6 separate regions of the Homo sapiens genome follow, and regions 1, 2, 3, 5 and 6 are each linked to region 4. Evidence: promoter capture Hi-C in 16 types of primary human blood cells and fetal thymus (Javierre and others, 2016). All regions are on one chromosome and are shown on one strand. The core of a region is centred on a gene start or on the middle of the fragment in contact, and the rest is flanking DNA. Distances in the headings are between cores, read along the strand shown.

What was found. The method cuts DNA at HindIII sites, captures the fragments that hold promoters and counts their contacts. A CHiCAGO score of 5 or more calls a contact.
Region 1: a contact is called between the fragment with the promoter of SDAD1-AS1 here and the fragment with the promoter of HELQ in region 4, in 1 of 17 cell types (naive CD4 T cells). The highest score is 6.5, in naive CD4 T cells.
Region 2: a fragment that was not itself captured here is called in contact with the fragment with the promoter of HELQ in region 4 in 1 of 17 cell types (total CD4 T cells); the score reaches 9.3 in total CD4 T cells.
Region 3: a contact is called between a fragment that was not itself captured here and the fragment with the promoter of HELQ in region 4, in 1 of 17 cell types (total B cells). The highest score is 6.2, in total B cells.
Region 5: the fragment with the promoter of USO1 here is called in contact with the fragment with the promoter of HELQ in region 4 in 1 of 17 cell types (total CD8 T cells); the score reaches 5.9 in total CD8 T cells.
Region 6: the fragment with the promoter of CNOT6L here is called in contact with the fragment with the promoter of HELQ in region 4 in 1 of 17 cell types (total B cells); the score reaches 5.3 in total B cells.

What each region holds. Positions count from the first base shown.
Region 1 is chr4:75,979,229-75,982,315 of GRCh38, reverse strand. SDAD1-AS1 (SDAD1 antisense RNA 1) reads right to left here and starts at 1,526. Exons shown (of 3, transcript NR_125906.1): 1 at 1,351-1,526. SDAD1 (SDA1 domain containing 1) reads left to right here. Exons shown (of 22, transcript NM_018115.4): 2 at 279-383; 3 at 846-944. The HindIII fragment of the contact is 11,776 bases long and covers 1-3,087 here.
Region 2 is chr4:75,671,371-75,674,317 of GRCh38, reverse strand. G3BP2 (G3BP stress granule assembly factor 2) reads left to right here and starts at 907. Exons shown (of 12, transcript NM_203505.3): 1 at 907-1,110. RefSeq lists enhancers at 1-71, 808-1,097, 1,378-1,617, 1,050-2,027. The HindIII fragment of the contact is 474 bases long and covers 1,459-1,932 here.
Region 3 is chr4:77,869,139-77,872,193 of GRCh38, reverse strand. MRPL1 (mitochondrial ribosomal protein L1) reads right to left here. Exons shown (of 9, transcript NM_020236.4): 2 at 339-450. Among named protein-coding and RNA genes, the nearest start is that of MRPL1, 7.8 kb to the right of the region's middle. The HindIII fragment of the contact is 516 bases long and covers 1,341-1,856 here.
Region 4 is chr4:83,454,414-83,457,162 of GRCh38, reverse strand. HELQ (helicase, POLQ like) reads left to right here and starts at 1,340. Exons shown (of 18, transcript NM_133636.5): 1 at 1,340-1,766. The coding sequence starts at 1,470. It overlaps MRPS18C (mitochondrial ribosomal protein S18C), which reads right to left and starts at 1,105. Exons shown (of 6, transcript NM_016067.4): 1 at 986-1,105; 2 at 205-254. The coding sequence starts at 1,085. RefSeq lists enhancers at 1,053-1,347, 1,334-1,443, 1,784-1,833, 1,262-2,092. The HindIII fragment of the contact is 1,733 bases long and covers 1-1,533 here.
Region 5 is chr4:75,723,095-75,726,031 of GRCh38, reverse strand. It overlaps USO1 (USO1 vesicle transport factor), which reads right to left and starts at 1,455. Exons shown (of 24, transcript NM_003715.4): 1 at 1,147-1,455. The coding sequence starts at 1,212. It also overlaps a transcript of G3BP2 not described here. RefSeq lists silencers at 987-1,164, 1,499-1,668 and enhancers at 1,249-1,328, 425-1,344, 1,345-2,265. The HindIII fragment of the contact is 5,085 bases long and covers 1-2,937 here.
Region 6 is chr4:77,818,003-77,820,894 of GRCh38, reverse strand. It overlaps CNOT6L (CCR4-NOT transcription complex subunit 6 like), which reads left to right and starts at 1,527. Exons shown (of 12, transcript NM_144571.3): 1 at 1,527-1,591. The coding sequence starts at 1,587. RefSeq lists silencers at 481-630, 891-1,050, 1,091-1,190, 1,681-1,750, 1,831-2,230. The HindIII fragment of the contact is 6,822 bases long and covers 1-2,892 here.

The DNA.
Region 1 (3,087 bases), core at 277-2,776, 7.5 Mb after region 4:
TGGGATTCATGCTTCTCTGTTCTTACACCATGCTGCCTAAACTTGTAGTGATAATTCCAAGGAAAAGTTCTTTAGATTATCTGTGATGTGCTCAGGTCTTTAAAAAGCGCACTTTGAAGAATGCAGATAAGGCAAAAGGAGTGTTTTTATATACTTTTGCATTATCTTTTTCTCCATGTGATCGTCAACAGTTTCTACTAAGAATTTCTCTACTGAATGTCTGTACTGAGAAAGTCATGTAATACAATGTGACAAACTTAAATTTTATTTTTCTGCAGTTTCTACAGCAGTATAATCACTACAAATCCAATGTGGAGATTTTCAAATTGCAACCAAATAAACCCAGCAAAGAACTAGCAGAGCTGGTGATGTTTATGGCACAGGTAAGAATATAATTGCTTAAATAAAGACCAGTATTAACACACAGTTTGCTGAATGTTTTTTCACTAATACTCAACCTTATTCCACTCTGGAATGGGAACTTAATTAAAATATTTTTCTAACTTTCCCTTTTTGCAAATTTTATTTTCTCCCTATCATGAGTTAGAGAATGTCACTAGATCTTTTTGCATAACTAACCAGGACAAAACTTTAAGACTATTTTTTTTCTTCAAATTCATCATAAAAGCAGGTACTAAATCATGCCATAAATATTACTAAGACTAGAGAAACCATGATAAATGTTGGAGAAATTAACATGTAGAAGGAAAAGAAGGTTGTTTGGAACCATCTACTTCTATGAAACATAGCCTTTTACTCTCGTTTTGCAGAACATCCTAAATGTATGCATCTGAATTATAGGAGAGAAAGAGAGCAACTTCAGAAGAGCCTTTGCTTTGTTACAGATTAGTCACTGCTACCCAGAGTACCTAAGTAATTTTCCTCAAGAGGTGAAAGATCTTCTCTCCTGCAATCATACCGTATTGGATCCAGATCTGCGAATGGTAGGACCAGTAGTTGGATGAATAAATTGTGCTGTGTTCATGTGTGCTGCGTTCATATATATTTAAATGAGAACAGCCTCTAAGCTAATTATCTTCAGAAAACGTAAATTATAATGTATTATCCTTTCCTAAAAATCCTTCTATGGCTTCTCATTTATACTTAGAGTAAAACGGAAACTTAATAACCTGGCTCAAAAGTGCCTGCATGATCTGCTTCCAGCCTGTGTTTCTGATATCATATTGTTTTCAGCTACACTGTGATCTTTCTATTCTTCCAGCACACTAACCCTACAGGATGCTCTTTAACCTTTTGAGATGATTTCTTCTAGTCATTCAAATCTCATATGCATGTAGAATCCTAATCACAACTTGTCATTTTTATAATGCCTTAAATTAGTAAACTTACCCATTAGACAGTCAGTTTGAGCATTTCATCATTGTCCTTTTAGTGGTTGGGGTTGAGTCCTGGCTGACATTCCCTTCACGAGGCCGGTGTACCTGTTTGCCCCACTTGTTGTGAATGTCAGCTGCTGGTGGCCCTCAGCTGCCCTTTCTCTGCAACATTGTCCTCAGCTAAATCGGAGTCCTAGTGCCTGGGAGGTGTCCTCCTACCCTAGTAGCCCACAGCCCATTATCATGTGGTACAAAAGCCCAGCCCATTACCTCAGGGTGGCTCTGACTCCAATGCAGGATGTGCTCCAGTGTTTTCCTGTGTTGGGACTAAAGCTAGTCTCCAGTCAAGGGCACATCCTTGCTTTGCTTTGCGTGTCTCTGCACTATCCTCCTTCCTTCACTTCCTTTCTGAGATCATACCCCCAACAAATCACTTGTAATAAATCAGTCTCTGCTTCTAGGGACTAAGACATTTCCAAATTTAATACATCTGCTTTTCAAACCTCTTTACAGCAGATAAGTACGCAAATATGATCACAAAACGTACTAATATCCTATAGCACAACTTGTAGAAATGCCAAGTCTTTAGATGAATATTTGTTTTCTTTTAGACTTTCTCAGGTTTTTTGTATTTCTATCATTTTTATACTACTTTAGGATTTTAGTAATTTGATTAGGCCAAAAAGAAAAAGAATACTGTCTCAGACAAGCCAAGGTTTCAGGCCCTGGGTTGTCAACTGATTGATACTCAGCTGGTACATGGGACCTGGCAGTATAGCCCAAGGGACTCCAAACTTGAACCCCTAGTCTAAAGGCTTTTACCTATGTCATGTTACTCTTGAAGTCCTTGTAGGTCATAGAGATTTGATATTTTGAGTATAGAGACTTAATGGCTTTCCAAGTAATTAGGATTTCTTTAAGTTTTATTTTCCTGGCAGTACCCCACCAAACTGGTCTGTGGGCATTATTAAATTAATATATATGCCAGGTGCACCTGTAGTCCCGGCTTCTTGGGAGGCTGAGGCAGGAGGATTGCTTGAGGTCAGGAGTTTGAGGCTGAGGTGTGGTATGAGCATGCCTGTGAATAGCCACTACACTGCAGCCTAGGCAACATAGCAAGATCCCACCTCTAAATTTTTTTTTAAATGGAAAAAAATGTGTATGTATATTTCTTTATAGTGCTTTATGATGATTAGTAGGTTTTTAAAAAATAATAAAGATTTCCGCCAGGCGCGGTGGCTCACGCCTGTAATCCCAGCACTTTGGGAGGCCGAGGCAGGAGGATCACCTGAGGTCGGGAGTTCGAGACCAGCCTGACCTACATGGAGAAACCCTGTCTCTACTAAAAATACAAAATAAGCCGGGCATGGTGGTGCGTGCCTGTAATCCCAGCTACTTGGGAGGCTCAGTCAGGAGAATTGCTTGAACCTGGGAGGCGGAGGTTGCAGTGAGCCGAGATCGCGCCATTGCACTCCAGCCTCTGTCTCAAAAAAAAAAAATAATAATAATAATAGAGATTTCCTTTACTAGGAGATAAAGGATTGCGTCTGTATAGTTAGCATTGCTCTTTAGAGGAAGCATTGAACACACTGGAAGAAGCTCTTTTTAATTGGTTATTGGGATAACCAACAATTCTTATCAGCCACTGGGCTATCTTTCTACCTGGTGTATTTGCTATTTTTCCAAGACTTTTTGAATCATTCCCAAGATTTTGTTCACTCTGTCCTGCTTACACAGATAGAAACATTGT
Region 2 (2,947 bases), core at 446-2,945, 7.8 Mb after region 4:
CGTAAGCATTCATTAATGTATTTTTTCCTTTCCGTTTCTTTGAACACTTCCTCAGTCCTTCATTCCAAAATTCCTGTGCTATCTCGGTATTCTCTGAAAACACTGCCAGACCTAAGATGCAAAGTGGCTTCCTTGACTACAAGATTTGGCTTGGCTTTGTCCATGAAACAAGGTCACCAGTGTCTCACCCTGGGGGCAAGTCTGGGCTTAGAGCTAGAACAGGACTGTAATCCTTGTATTTCAGGCCTTCTTTTAGCTTTAGTATGTAAAATGCTTTAGTATCTACTGATATTTAGCCATGCCTAAATTCGTAACAAGGACACAAAGAAATAGTCTTTTCCCCCTCTGTAAAGCCCACGTCATGTTCTTCCTTTACTGCAGGGCCTCTTAATGGGGCTTAAAACCTAGGATGGGTTAAGTAAACAATGTAGGTGAGTTTAGTGTGCAAACAGCTGAAATCACCGGCTGCATTTTAAGCTCGTCTACAGCAGCAACCTGCAGACACCTATTCAGAGAGATTACTAAATTCCCTCCTTCCCATTAATAAAAAGGACCAGAATATCAGTCTACAAAAGACACTGCGTTGCTGCGAACCAGCTCTCGCTTGCGCGATCAGGAAGAAGGGCGGCAAGGCTGGAGCCTCGGGACCGGAGAAAGGCAGCCTGCTTGTGACGTCAAATCAGCGGACTCTTATCTTGGCTTTAGGCCGGTTCCGGTTCCCCGGCTTTCCGGGCGCGAGCGTGTGCGAGCGCGGCAGCGTACTGCGCGTGCTCCGCAGAGGGACACGGGAAGGTTGGGTCCGGCTCTGGAGGAGATGCGTGATTGGCTGACGCTGTGCTCGGGGGTTCCCTGGCCCTTTCGGCAGGGGTAAAACAATAAGAGGGGGCGGTGGCAAAGGGGGCGGGACGTCCGTGGTCCTTGTCGCACGTCGCAGCGCCTGGCGCCCGGGAAGAGGTGGTTGTGAGGCAGACGAACTCGCGGCTCTCCGGCTTCCGAGGCTTCCGAGTTGTCGGAGGAAGGGGGCGGCGAGCAATAAGAACCCGCCGCACCCGGTCCTCAGCGACTCTTCTGACCTCCGCGCGACGTACCCGCCGCCGCCGTTGGCTGGAGGTGTGTACGGGCGCCGGGAGGGGAGGTCGGTGTGGTGGTCGGAAAGGGACATTCCATTCGCGCTCCGCGGCGCGAGGCAATCGTCCGGTGTGTGAGCCCGGGAGCCGGAGGTGTAGCGGCAGAGACATTGTTCTTGCCGGCTCCCTACGGTGCCGTGTGTGCGTGAGAGAAGACCAGTCTTTCCTCTAGGTGAGGGGTGGGAGGCCGCCTGGGAAGGGAGGTGACCCGCGAGCGTCTTGCGGGCAGAGGGCTCCGAGTGCACAGGTGGGGTTGAGGTTTATTGGGGATGAGGTGGCGAAGTGGGGGGGGAGGCACGCAGCAGCTCCCGAAGGCGCGCTGATGGAAGCTTAATACAGGAAGTGTGGGAGCAGGCTTTCTGGAGGGGATGTTTTAGGGTGGGTAGCCCACCGTTCCTGTTTCCGAATCGTTTTCGGCTCTTGTACCTTGTTCCTTCGGAGCGGAGAGGCCGTCGCCACCCCGCCCGTGGGGGGAGGGGAAAAGAGGTTGTGTCGACGGAGGCAGAAGCGACGCAGATGCGAAAGTGGCGGCCTCCGGGCACCATTTCTGTGCACGGAAACAGAATCCGGGTTTGAAGGCAGCCGCCGCTTCGCTTACCCAGTACCTAGTGTTCCGTCGTGTTTGACCAACCCCCCTCTCCCTGCCACCGCGGGTTTAATCCGAACGTGTTCGGATACTGGAACTGTAACGTGCGCCTTCTTCGTCCCCCTCTTATGCAGACGATCCCTTATTGACTCGGGAATGGCTTTTGGGGGATGGGTTCCCGCTTTTGTTGGGATGGGGGGACAGAAAGGAACAGAAGCTTCCCTAGATTGTGTTGATTTTGTTAGTGGAATCTGATAGAATTTTTCCTGCGTCTCTAAAAGCAGATTTCTTAAGATGGCCCTTTGCCGCTTTGGGGCGAATATAGATTTTCGTCTATAATTTCCTGCATAGATCAGCTTTTTTCCCCAAGACATACTTAATGTTCTAACGGATTTGGGGGGTGGGAGGAGAGTGCCTTTTCCTTCATAACAACAACAAAAAAAAGGCACTTGCACTTTTAGCTGGAATAGTAAAGTCCTGTTCTCCCTGTATGATTGTTGTGGGATATTAACTTGGATTAAGATACTGTGGTTTTAGGTTCAAGGCTCTGTACCTTGTTCTGGTCTTTCAAACGTTAGTGTTGCAGGTACCTGGATCTAGGAAACATTAACTGTCGTTAAGAGAGCCCCGGTGTACTAGAGTGGGAGATGATGGCAATTTTTCTCTAGCTCCATATTTGGCAGTTAATATAGCCTTAGGCATGTGAACCAAGTTTCTAAGTAAACTTTTGGCCCTGTTAGCATCCAGTGGTCTTTTTGATAATCCAAGATTCCTGGTCTTAGGAGATAAACGGTACGATGAGTTTGAACCTCAGGATTGAATTATCCTTTCTTTGGCAGTAACATTTTTCTTAAATGTTTAAGATTACTCTTATGGGCCTTTATGTTATGATTTAATCTTTACAAACTAATTCTGAAAAGCAGTCAAGGAATTGTAGGAATAATAAGGACCTAGAATGAATTTCTTACTAAGAGCTGTCATAGTTCAGATTGATATTCAGGGTCGAAATATTAGTAATAGTGAAAAAACATCAAGAGTGAACCAGAATGCTTGTGGGATGGATGGGGATAAAAATTAGAAGGTAAAGAAGAAAACACATTATTTGACCATTTCGTAGAGTAACTAACTTAACTGTTCAGTTAGCAGCTGAGCAGTTGATTTGTCAGCAGGCAACTCCTGGTTTGAAGAAAGTGTTGGCACTGTGTCTTTAGATTCTGAAAACTTCCCTCCTTAT
Region 3 (3,055 bases), core at 349-2,848, 5.6 Mb after region 4:
GATTCAAACCCTAGCTCTAAAATTTAGTAGCTCTCTGACCTTGGGCTAGTTATATAACCTACCAGTGCCTCGATTTTCTTCTCTGTAAATTGTGCATAATAACAATAGCTTCCTCATAAGGTTGCTGTTGGGAATAAGTTAGTTATTGAACATCAGTGTTCAATAAACGTTAAGTATTATTATGTCTTATCTTTCCTTCAGGACTATAAGGTCGATGAAGCAGAAATAATAAACTTTTACAACTATATGTCCTGGTAAATCTTTATGGAACTAAACATGCTTTTTAAAAAAAATTAAAATGACAACAAATGAAATAATAACTAAAAAAAAATACTTACTTTGTAGCAGCAGCAAAATGTCTGTTGGGCACTCGGATGTTTACAGAACAAGAACAAAGTGATGTCTGATAAACCATCTTGGAAAGGCTATGCCTTTGATGATGTATCAAGGCTTGAAAGGAAAAACATGTAAAATATTAACATTAAATAATCATTATATTCATAATTTTTTAATTTTAAAAGTCAGTACTTTCAAAATGAAAACATTCAATATTTTGTGATTTTTAATCCTTCTTTTAAAAGTGTAATAATAGCCAGGCACAGTGTCTCATGCCTGTAATCCCAGTACTTTAGGAGGCTGAGGCGGGTGAATCACGAGGTTAGGAGATCAAGACCATCCTTGCTAACACGGTGAAACCCCGTCTCTACTAAAAATACAAAAGATTAGCCAGGCATGGTGGCACGAACCTGTAGTCCCAGCTACTTGGGAGGCTGAGGCAGGAGAATCGTTTGAACCCAGGAGGCGGAGGTTGCAGTGAGCCGATATAGCGCCACCGCACTCCAGCCTGGGCGACAGAGTGATACTCCATCTCAAAAAAAAAAAAAAGTGTAATAATAGAAACCACAGTTCTTGAAACTAAAAGCAGGTAAATACATCTAATATTTGAACTATCTTATCTTTTTTTTTTCTTTTAAAGACAGGCTTTCACTCTGTCACCCAGGCTGGAGTACAGTGGCATGAACACAGCTCACTATAACCTTGAACTCCTGGGTTCAAGTGGGCCTCCCTCCTCAGCCTCTCAAGGCTCTGGGGTTTTCATCTATTTTTAACTTAAACTATTTCATATTCATCAGAGTATGTTAGTTCTATTATTAGGGAATATGTATATGTATCCCAAAATTTCTTAATTTATTTGTTCATTTTTACAATAAATAAGACATTAACACAGTTGCCCAAGTACTTCTGAAGATAAGAACAAAGTGGGGTACTGGATCTGTGAGAAATAAGAAAAAGGTACACAGGTCTTTGAAGGTATTGTTAATGTTCTATTTTTTTAAGCTTAATAGTGAATATTTAGAATTTCAAGCTATTATTATTCTTTTCATCTTAACTATATTCTTTTGCGTGTGTAAATATTAGAAATATGTTTTTATTTAAAGATTACAAAAGTAAAGTCTTCCTCCTACACCTGGCCCCCAGCTTCTCTCCCATGTTAGCAATACCTTATGCATCTTTTTAGAAACACTATATACATATATAAACATATAGGTACCAATATATTTCCCTCCTCTTTTATAAAATGGTAGCATACTCTAATCACTACTCCATCTTGCTTTTTCACCTAAAGGTATTAGAGCCTATTTTCACAAACATACACACACATATACATGAGATGCAGATGAGATTTTATGTGTGCCTTTCATAAAGGTGTGTGTACATGCATACATTTGAGAGATCACTTCATATCAGTTTATAAAGATTTTATTGCTGAGTGTGGTGGCTCATGCATGGAATCCCAGCACTTTGAAAAATCACGTATGATAAATGAAGGAACAAGCAATTATCCATTCGAAGCTTGGCAAACACTTCCAAACAATTCTAGTTGTACTATACAAGAACCTAACAACCTTGGAAGATCCCAAAATAATAATTCTCTTGGGGAAACAAACAAAAAAATCTCTTGAACATATCAATTGCAATCTGCTATTTTAAAAAATCAAGGCCAGTCACAGTGGCTCATGTCTGTAATCCCAGCACTTTGGGAGGCCAAGGCAGGAGGAACCCTTGAGCCCAGGAGCTCGAGCCCAGCCTGGGCAATAGAGTGGAACCCCATCTCTACAAAAAATTTAAAAATTAGCGACGGTGCACAGCTGTAGTCCCAGCTACTCAGGAAGCTGAGGTGGGAGGATTGCTTGAGGTGGCAGGATCACTTGAGCCAGGAAAGTTGAGGCTGCAGTGAGTTCTGATCTCACTATTCCACTCCAGACTGGGTGACAGGAACCCTGTCTCAAAAAAACAAAACAGGCTGGGTGCGGTGGCTCACACCTGTAATCCCAGCACTTTGGGAAGCTGAGGTGGGTGGATCACCTGAGGTCAGGAGTTTGAGACCAGCCTGACCAAGATGATGAAACTGTCTCTACTAAAAACGCAAAAAAAATTAGCTGAGTGTGTTGGTGCATGCCTGTAATCCCAGCTACCTGAGAGGCTGAGGCACAAGAATCGCTTGAACCTGGATGGCAGAGGTTGCAGTGAGCCGCGCCACTGCACTCCAGCCTGGGCAACAAGAGCGAAACTCTGTCTCAAAAACAAACAAACAAACAAACAAACAAACAACAAAAAGCAAGCAAGCAAGCAAAACCACTACTATCAGTCATGACAACCAGAAACTACAATTTTCAACAGAAATCAAACACTACAGACCAAAAGAAACCAAATACCACTATTTAAGTAGCACTGTTAGATCATGATATCTATGTTTTCAATCCTTTTGTAGTCAATTTGTCTAGCTGTATTATTTTATCTCCTTTATTAATACATTTCTCTTCCCCTTATTCTTAGCATATAACCTCACTTGCTACTTCAGAGAAAATAGCCCTCAGAACTTCCTGAACTACTGAGTCTCCCTGATCCAGCACTCATTCTCAAAATCTCTCCCACCCCGTGGCAATGAGATAGAAACAACTCCCTCTCCTTTCTTATCTCTTTTAATTGATAGTGAAAGGTTAGAGTTCCCTTGAGGTCAGTCCTATACTGCCTTCTCACCTGACTCTATAAT
Region 4 (2,749 bases), core at 91-2,590:
AACTCAGCTGACTACATGACTACAATCAATTCATCATCATTTCTGAACTCAGAGTAATTATCAAATTGTTTTGTCCTACGGCAGAACTCTATTCAAGTAGCTAAAATAAAAGATGTTAGAGTCTAATACCAGATCTCGTTTTAAAAAGAAAAACATTTTGGTCATATTTGCAAAGGCCTTACTAATAGAAAAAAAAATTCTTACCAGGTCCTCATTGCTGGATACCTGTTGTGAACAACCTCTTCTCCAAAGCACTGCGATTAAACAGAAACAGCAATTAACCATTTCTTTTTCTTAGCTGAATAGCTAAAGATTTTTGTTTTTATGGAGACAGGATGAATTAAGGGACACGATATTAAAGAAAGGTTTTGTATTATATTCAGAATGGTTAAAAACTTTTATATTTGGGACAGAGTAAGACTCAACATGGGTGTGCTTTCCAGGGCTTAGGGGGAAAAGAACATATTTTCCCGCCCATACCTGCTCTTTCTGACATTTATTTTCCCTTCATTCCATGGTTAGAGAAAATTCTTAATGCAAATTCTTATAGGAGAAGCAACAGAAAGGCACTGTCATACCAAAAAGAAAGTAACAGACCCGTCCCAGAAAGAATTTATAGAGAAGCACAGAGAAGATAAAATTGCAAAAATTATGCAATTTTGTTCTGTTTGGGGACCTTAGACATCTGGAATTTGCTGCTGGGCGACTCTGGAAATGTCCCTTCCTCACTAAGATTATCCAGAGATCTTAGGAAAGTCTCTGCTTTTTAAGAACCACTCCAACTTCCTCATACGTTTAAATACTTTAAAGGAGTGGATTAGACGACACTAAAACAGTCAAAGGCAATTACAGATTCCCACCCATCTTGGAGAAACTTAATCGCCTAGAAACCAGAGTCGTTTTGCTAACAGGGACGACTCTAACCATTAGGACTAAGGTTAATGCCTGCAGCGCTACAATGGAGCATAGGATATGGAGACTTTACCCGTGTGAGTCCCGGGATGTGTAAGGCTGACAGCAGCCGTTACCAAGTGTGTCAACTTCTTCCTCCCTAGACCACCGCAAACAGCAACCACAGCGGCCATGGTTCCGCGTTTCTTCCACTTCCTTTCGTTCCAAATCGTTCCGAAAGGCCCCTTCCGCTGCTCTTCCCCTGTGGGCTCGAGTACCCCGTTCAAAGGTTCCGCAGGAGAACGCTGAGGACCCGCGAGAGTAGGTGAGGTTTTTCAATACGCATGCGCAGCACCTTTCTGTTCGTGCCCTCCCTACGCGGCAGGTCACGTGAGGCTTATGATTGGACAGGGTAGAAGTTTATGCGTGCTTCCGGTCCGCGAGCCCTGAGAGCTAACTTGGGGTCTTTTCCCAAGGTGGATGTAGAAGCGGGCTCCGGCGTCCCACTCTCCCTTCCATATGGGCTTAGCGTCTGGGTCACTGAGAACGACGTCTGAATAGGGCCCTGGGTCCTTGCCATGGATGAATGTGGTTCCCGCATCCGCCGGCGGGTGTCTCTCCCCAAAAGGAACCGTCCAAGCTTGGGGTGTATTTTTGGCGCTCCCACCGCGGCCGAGCTCGTGCCCGGAGATGAGGGGAAAGAGGAGGAGGAAATGGTGGCTGAGAACAGGAGGCGGAAAACCGCGGGCGTACTGCCGGTTGAGGTACAGCCCCTTCTACTCTCAGATTCCCCGGAATGTCTCGTCCTTGGAGGTGGTGATACAAACCCGGACCTCCTACGTCACATGCCCACTGACAGAGGGGTGGGAGACCAGGTACGGAGGACTTGGAACTTGAAACTGCAAACTTTTGGCATCCTTCCCAGATGCAAAGAGTTGACCAGTTTTATCGCCTTCGTTTACTTCTCTCGTCTTCGTTACCACTGTTAATCGGCACTTAGGAGGTATTGATTGCCTTGTTATTTACATTTCTATATAAATATGAAATGTAAACCCCGAGACATAAAAGTTGTGCACGCAGCAGTTAAGTGGCATGACTGAGACACAAATCTAGGCTTCCAGATAACTGCAGCTCCTACTGTACAAATAAAATCTGCTGTTTATTGAAGACCCGTTATGTTAAGCTAGTTATATTATCTAGATTTTACGACAGTAATCAGGCCCTGAAAAGTTGAGATAGTACAGTTCTTGCTCCAAATCCTGTTGTCTTAATCACTTTACTATATTGCTGCCTCCAGGTTTGTGTGTCTTCTGTGTAGCAGACCACTCCAAGTCAGTATTCAGTTTCTCAGTCTCAATTCCAAATTCCTAGGAACTCCTTGGAGTGTCTAGTGGTACAACCATGTTTCTGTTAGAGGCCAGTCACTGTAGATTGTAGTCTGGGAGGGAAGCGCTGCAGTTATCAGAAACTTCGAATGCGCTGACATTTCAGTAGACGTCTACCAGTCTTCCTGCTGTTTTAGTACAGCTTTAAGAATTACAATCTGGCCGTGTGCAGTGGCTCATGCCTATAATCCCAGTGCTTTAGGAGGCAGAGATGGGAGGATCACTTAAGCCCAGAAGTTCGCGTTCAAAACCAGCCTAGGCAACAGAGACCCAGTCTCTACAAAAAAAAAAAAAAATTTTTTTTTCTTAATTAGCCGGGTGTGGTGGCCTGCACCTGTAGTCCTAGCTACTTGGGAGGCTGAGGCAGGAGGATCGCTTGAGCCCAGGATGTCAAGACTGCAGTGAGCTGTGATCGTGCAGTGGCTGGAGCCACTGTGCTCCAGCCTGGGTGACAGAGCCAGACCCTGTCTCAA
Region 5 (2,937 bases), core at 206-2,705, 7.7 Mb after region 4:
GGGATTAGAGGCGTGAGCCACCGCGTCCGGCCTACTTCACCCCTCTCAGTCTCATTTTTTGACTTTTAAGGTGAGAATACTCTCACCTATCTTGCAGGGTAGTTAACGATTAAAGCATAATGTGGAATATAAAGAGCTCAGCACAGAACCTAGCACAAGGTAAGAGCCTGACAAATGAAAGCTACTATATTATCCCTCAGGATCCCATTAACAAAGTTAGCCATTAAAGTGTTATACTTAGTCTCTTTTATGTAGATCTAAAATTCTTCTCAAATAAAAAGTTTATTTCAAAAAGGCATACACCCTCGATTCCATTAAACACTAACCAAACTTCAAAATAAGTGTATTCTAAACCTAGAATCTAAGCAACTATTAAATAATGTTTTCAGCGGCTAACCATTTTTTTTTTTTTTTAAATAACGCCGCAAATCATGTCATTAGGAGTTCAGGCAGAAAGCGGTGGACGTGTCCCCAAAGCAGTTTGAGCGCTTAAGATCCCTACTACGTTCAAGGTAGCATTTGCCAAATGATATATATTTGGGTGAGCCCGAAAAGCCGGATCTGAACAAATAACACCAGGCAGAACGACCGCTCTTCCAGTTGATGGGACAGGAGCAGGTGGATTTGTCCTTCAAAGAATATCGTTTTATTCTTAGCCAAATGCTCTCACCAACAGCTGGGTTTTAAACCTTCTCGCAGTTTTCCCCAACGCCCCAGTTTCAGACTGCGAGGGAGGGAGCAGGACTTCAGGCTCCTCTCGGCCAGTGCAGACGAGCGAAAGAGAAAGAGGGAGGGGCCCACGGCCCCGAGGGGCGTGGGAGGCAGTTCGGGCCAGCTCGGCCGCGCATCCGTCCCTTCCCGTGCGGTACCACCTGCGGACCACTCTCCTAGCCCGAGCTTCAGGGCCTACAGAGCTGCGGGGCGCGGCCGCCGTCAGTCCGGCCGAACGGCAGCAATGGGGACTGAGCTGGGGGCGTGATTGAATAACTCTGGGATTTCAGGAGCGGAAGGAGGGCAAAGGGGGAGGCGGCATGTGGATGCCCCCTCCATGGTGGGACGCTGGAGGTGACCTTCGGGTCTCCGAGTGCTCCGTCCCCGTCCCTGCCCGGACCCCTTCCCAAGTCCCAGACCCGCTGCTCCTCTCACCGTCTCGGCTTCTGTGTGCTGGGGTCCGGCACTCTGACCCCCCATTACCCCGCGGAGGAAATTCATCTTGCCGTTCAGCCACCAGGTTTACCGGCCCCTCCGGAAAAAAAAGAAGACAACTTCCCCCGCCCTCCGCAGGGCCTGGGCCCCAATCCCGCACTCTACACACTCCTACTGCTGCCACCACCGCCTCCAACTCGGCGGCCACTCCAGCCCTCTAAGCCCGGAAACAGCCGCCAGCAGCGGCCAAGATGCGCATGCGCGGGGACGTGGCATTACGTGGCGGCTCGAAGGTTGAAGGCAAAAGGGGAGCGGAGGCGAGAGGAACCTCTTAGCTAGGTTCCGCCGAAGCCCCACCCACTGCGCAGACCCCGCCTCCCACCGCAGGGGCACGCCTCCTACCCCCACCCTTCGCGGATTGATCCTGCTGGCCGCAGCCACCCACGTGGTGGAAGCCCGGCCCTGCAGGCTGGAGAGGATTTGATTAGACTACGCGTTTCGACTTGCAGGGTGTTTAATCGTCGCCAAGCGGGACTTACTGCAAGCTATCAAATCTGAGGTCTTATTTTGTTGAGTCGAAAGTGAAATTTTCCTTTGGCCAACGTGACAGGTAAGGCTTCCTGGCGCCTGAGAGGGTTCGCTTGGTTTGACGGTTTACTGGTACCAGCATTGTGGCTTTCTGATCCCGGTAAATTGCATTTCTTTACAGGGCTTTGTTTGGTGGTAAAAAGGGTTACTAGACACCCCTCATTCCACTGCCACTGGAGGGCGCATTTCTCAGCTCTTGCTCTTCAAACCTGCTGAAAGGAATTCCTAGATCTAAACACCAGGTACACCTCTATTTTCAAGTGTCGTCAGGAGGAAACCCATCAAACCCTACATTTAGCTTACTAGAGAAATACATTGTTCTGCTGTGTCAGTTTGGCGAGTAACATAATGTTTCGTTATTAACTCTCAACCCCTGTGTTTTCAGTTTTTTTTTTTTTAACATGAAAAATTGTCATTTTCTCTAATTGGTATGCCTGTTCCTTTGGCAGTGAGGTTGTCAGTACACATGCTTCTGGAATAGTCTTGTAAATTTCTTGAGGCTAAAAAGCACAGGTCTAGTTAGCTAACTGACTCATGCACCTCTCCCCTTGGATTCCCCACAGGTCTCAGATTCAGCATTTAAAATTGAACTCGTCATCTTTCCCTGCCTCCCTTAAAGAAAAAAAGTCAATATGCTGCTTCTACTGTGTGCGTGCCGTGCTCAGTAGTACCACTGTCCAAATAATTGCCTAAGCTAGACAGAGGAAGCTGGGAAGAATCTTAGACTCTGGCTTTCCACCCACACATGTCCAATCAATAGTCATGTCCTATCATTTCTATTTATAGAATATTTCTCAAATAGGTGTTCTGCTCTCCATCCTCTGTGCCTGTGACATAGATTATGTTCTTCTCATCATTTCTCATTGAGATGACAGCAACAGCCTCCTAATTAGTTTGTCTGCATTCAGCCCTGGCTTCCTTCCAGTCCAATCTCCAGTCCATCCTTGGGTGAGACTAACAACAACAAAACATCTGTTCATGTCATTCCTCTTAAAATCCTCCAGTTGTTCCCCATTCTGTCCAGAATAAAGTGCAAACTCCTTAGTTTGTCATACAGGCCTGTTATGATTTAGCTCCTGCCTACTTTTTCAGCTCCTGCCTCCCCCACATACTCTGGGCATTTTTCTCAGACCTGGATATGCCCTTCCCTTCCTTTCTCTTCATCAAGCAAACTCCTGCTAATTCCTTAAGGCTCAACTCTGA
Region 6 (2,892 bases), core at 278-2,777, 5.6 Mb after region 4:
TCACCAAGTAAACACTACTATTTCTAGTTTGCATTTGGATGTTTTCATTCTGTAGATGGCATGGATAAGCTACAAACAACAAACTAAAGTCTACAACGAGAAGGGAGAATTAGAAAATAGGACCGGGTTATCGCTGAGCGTCACAGGTTCTTTTATTTACCTTTGACGATACAACTTACAGATGCTATATGTTTTTAAAAAAAATCCACCGAATATGTCAGGAAACATTTCCTTCGGTCACTTCACCTCCCCTGGCGTCTCAGCCACCTAGACCTACGCTCTGCTTCGCTGTCAGGTCGCCTCGGGCGAGGAGGGTGCAGTAAACAGCGCCCACACAAGAACCCGGGGTGAGGCGGTTTCCCGTCTCTTCGCCAAGGCTCTGTGGATGTGGGTTTCTGAAACTCTACCACTCTTCTCAGCCCCGCTCCTCGCTCAGGCCAGGAAAAAAGAGTGAGAAAACAGCCAGAGCAAAACAGAAAACCATTAAGAAGCCCGGGCCTCCGCGCGCTCACCGCGACAAAACGCGGCGCACGGGGGGCGGGGCCAAGGCGCTGCGTAGGAGCTCCGCCCCGTCACCGCCCCGCCTCCTTCCCCTCACCCCAACCCTCCGCGCCGGGGAGTGACTGACTCCCGCCAGCCCCTCCACGTCAATCAACCCTCCTCGTTCTCGCACTCTCTGCACCTTGTTATTAATCTCAATACCGATATCGCCCGGACGCCTCTCCCCCGGCCCTCGGGGGTGTGAACGTGTGTGAGCGGGAGCGAAGGCACCGAAAGCTGGCGTCTCTGTTCAACCTCGGCCCCAGCAGCACCCGGCGCAGCGGCAACCCCCGCAGCGGCGGCAGCCCCAGCACCAGGAGGCCAAGGCCAAGGCCAGGCTCTGCGTGGCTCTCGGAGCAGTAGCCGCGGCTCCGGCCCTGCGGGGGCGCAGCTTCCTTCGGCTGGGGCCTTCGCGCCGGCGGCCGCGGCCGCGGGGCCTCTCTTGCGCGCCTGGGGTCACTGTCCTCGAAGCCCGGCGGCGCGGCCCTCGTCCCCCTTCCCGACCCCCGGTCTGTCTCCTCGCTCCCTTCAGCCGCCTTCCGCGCCGCCGCCTCTGCCGTTCGTCAGGCGGCCCGGCCCGGCCCGCCCGCCCCGCATCCCCTCCGGCCGGTGCCTCTCCCCTCCGGCGGGCTGCCTGCATGTCTTTGCTGCCCTCAGCCCCGCCGCCACCGCCGCCGCCGCCTCCCCCGCCGCCGCAGCACCAGCACCAGCCGCCCCGTCGCCGCCGCCGCCGCCGCCGCCCGGACCCCGGCGCGCTGAATGCAGGTGAGGAGGGGGCGCGGGCCCCCCGAGACCCCGGGCCCGGGTTCCCTGCGCGCCCGCCCGCGAGCCCCGGTTACGGGCCCTGTGTGCCGCCGCGGCTTCCCCTCGGGGCGGGCGGGAGCGAGGCCCGCCGTGGGTGTTTGTGTTTGCGTCTGCGTCTGCGGCCGCGGCTCTGGAGGGGAAGCATCTGTGGGGGCCTGGTGCGCGCGCGCGCGCGTGTTTGTGTGTGTGTTTCCCCTGCCGCGGGGAAATGGCTGCTGTTGCTTCTGGGCCAGAGGAAGAGAATGAGGTAGAGTGTTCTTTTGCCTCCGAGTAGGACCGAGAGTGTTGGGAAGAGGAGCGCGTCCCCGGGGAAATGAGGTGGGAGAGGGACAAATGTGCGTGTGGGTGTGCGAGTTGGGACTTTGGCGGGCGGGGAGGCGGCCCGAGGACCCACGGCGAGTGGGTGTGTGTCGGGTGACTGGAGGGGGCGGCGGGGCTGACCCGCGTCTCTTCAGAGGCGGGCGAAGGTTCCGGGGTGTGTGTGTGTGTGTGTGTGTGTGTCGGGGGTGGCCCGGGGCCGGGACCCCAGAGTGGCGTGTCCCTCCCGCTTTGTGGCTGCGGCTCCCGAGCCTCGCAGGTGAGAGCTGCTCCTAGGGGGCCGGCCGGGGAGGGCTGAGTGAGTGCGGCACACGCGCGGCAGCGGGGCTGGGAGAGCTGCTGGTCGGTGCCGCGCCGCTGATCCCGGGGCCGCCGTTCCCCGGCCGCGGCAGGAAGCGCGCCGGCCTGCAGCGCGGCCTAACTGCCTGGGCGCCCGCCCACCTCCCCGGACGCCTCCCGGGACGGCGAGCCCGCGCGAGCCCACGGCGCTGCCTCGGGCCTGGGCAGGTGAGGGTCGGAGGCGGGACTCGCCGATTGCCGTCGCCGTGGCCGCCTCCGCGTCTCCTGAGAGGCGAAGGCTTATTTTGGCGTTCCAACTGCAAGCCTTCGCCCGGCCGGCTGTGGGACCCGAGGGAGGAAAGTGAATCAGAACAGTCAGTCTTGGGAATACGCGGTGTCGTGTTCCCTTCTTTTCATCCTTCCCCTAAGGCTGTGTGGAGGGACTGAGTAAATATTTTGGATTTTTGTTGCAAATACTTTGCCGTTGGTAAGATTTTTTTTTTTTTAATTAGACAAACATTTTCTTGGAAGGGCTGAGGAAGAAAGGGAAACTGGCTTTCCTGGCCTGTGGGATTGGATGGATTTTGTGCATTTGAAATTGTTTTATCCTGCCTCCTAGGGGGAGAGGCGTGTACGCGCCGCCGAGCTGAGGAGCTGGGTGAGGAAGAGGAAGTTACTGGAGCTGTCATCCTGCTTAACTCGGTCGGCTATTGAGCTTAGACTGTTTAGGTGGATTGTGTTCAGGGAGTTTAGCTGAGCCGTTTGTACACATTGGAAGCACAGTGTTACATTTTACCGTATTGCCTCTAGTTATCTTGTCAATCAAGATAGGCTCAACAAACATGTTTTCCTCAGTCTCCAAAAACTAGATCAAGCAACCTCTGTTGTCTACTCAGTATGTGCTGCTGGAAAGCTATTTTGAGAATAGCCTAAGCAAAACCCAGTTGTAAA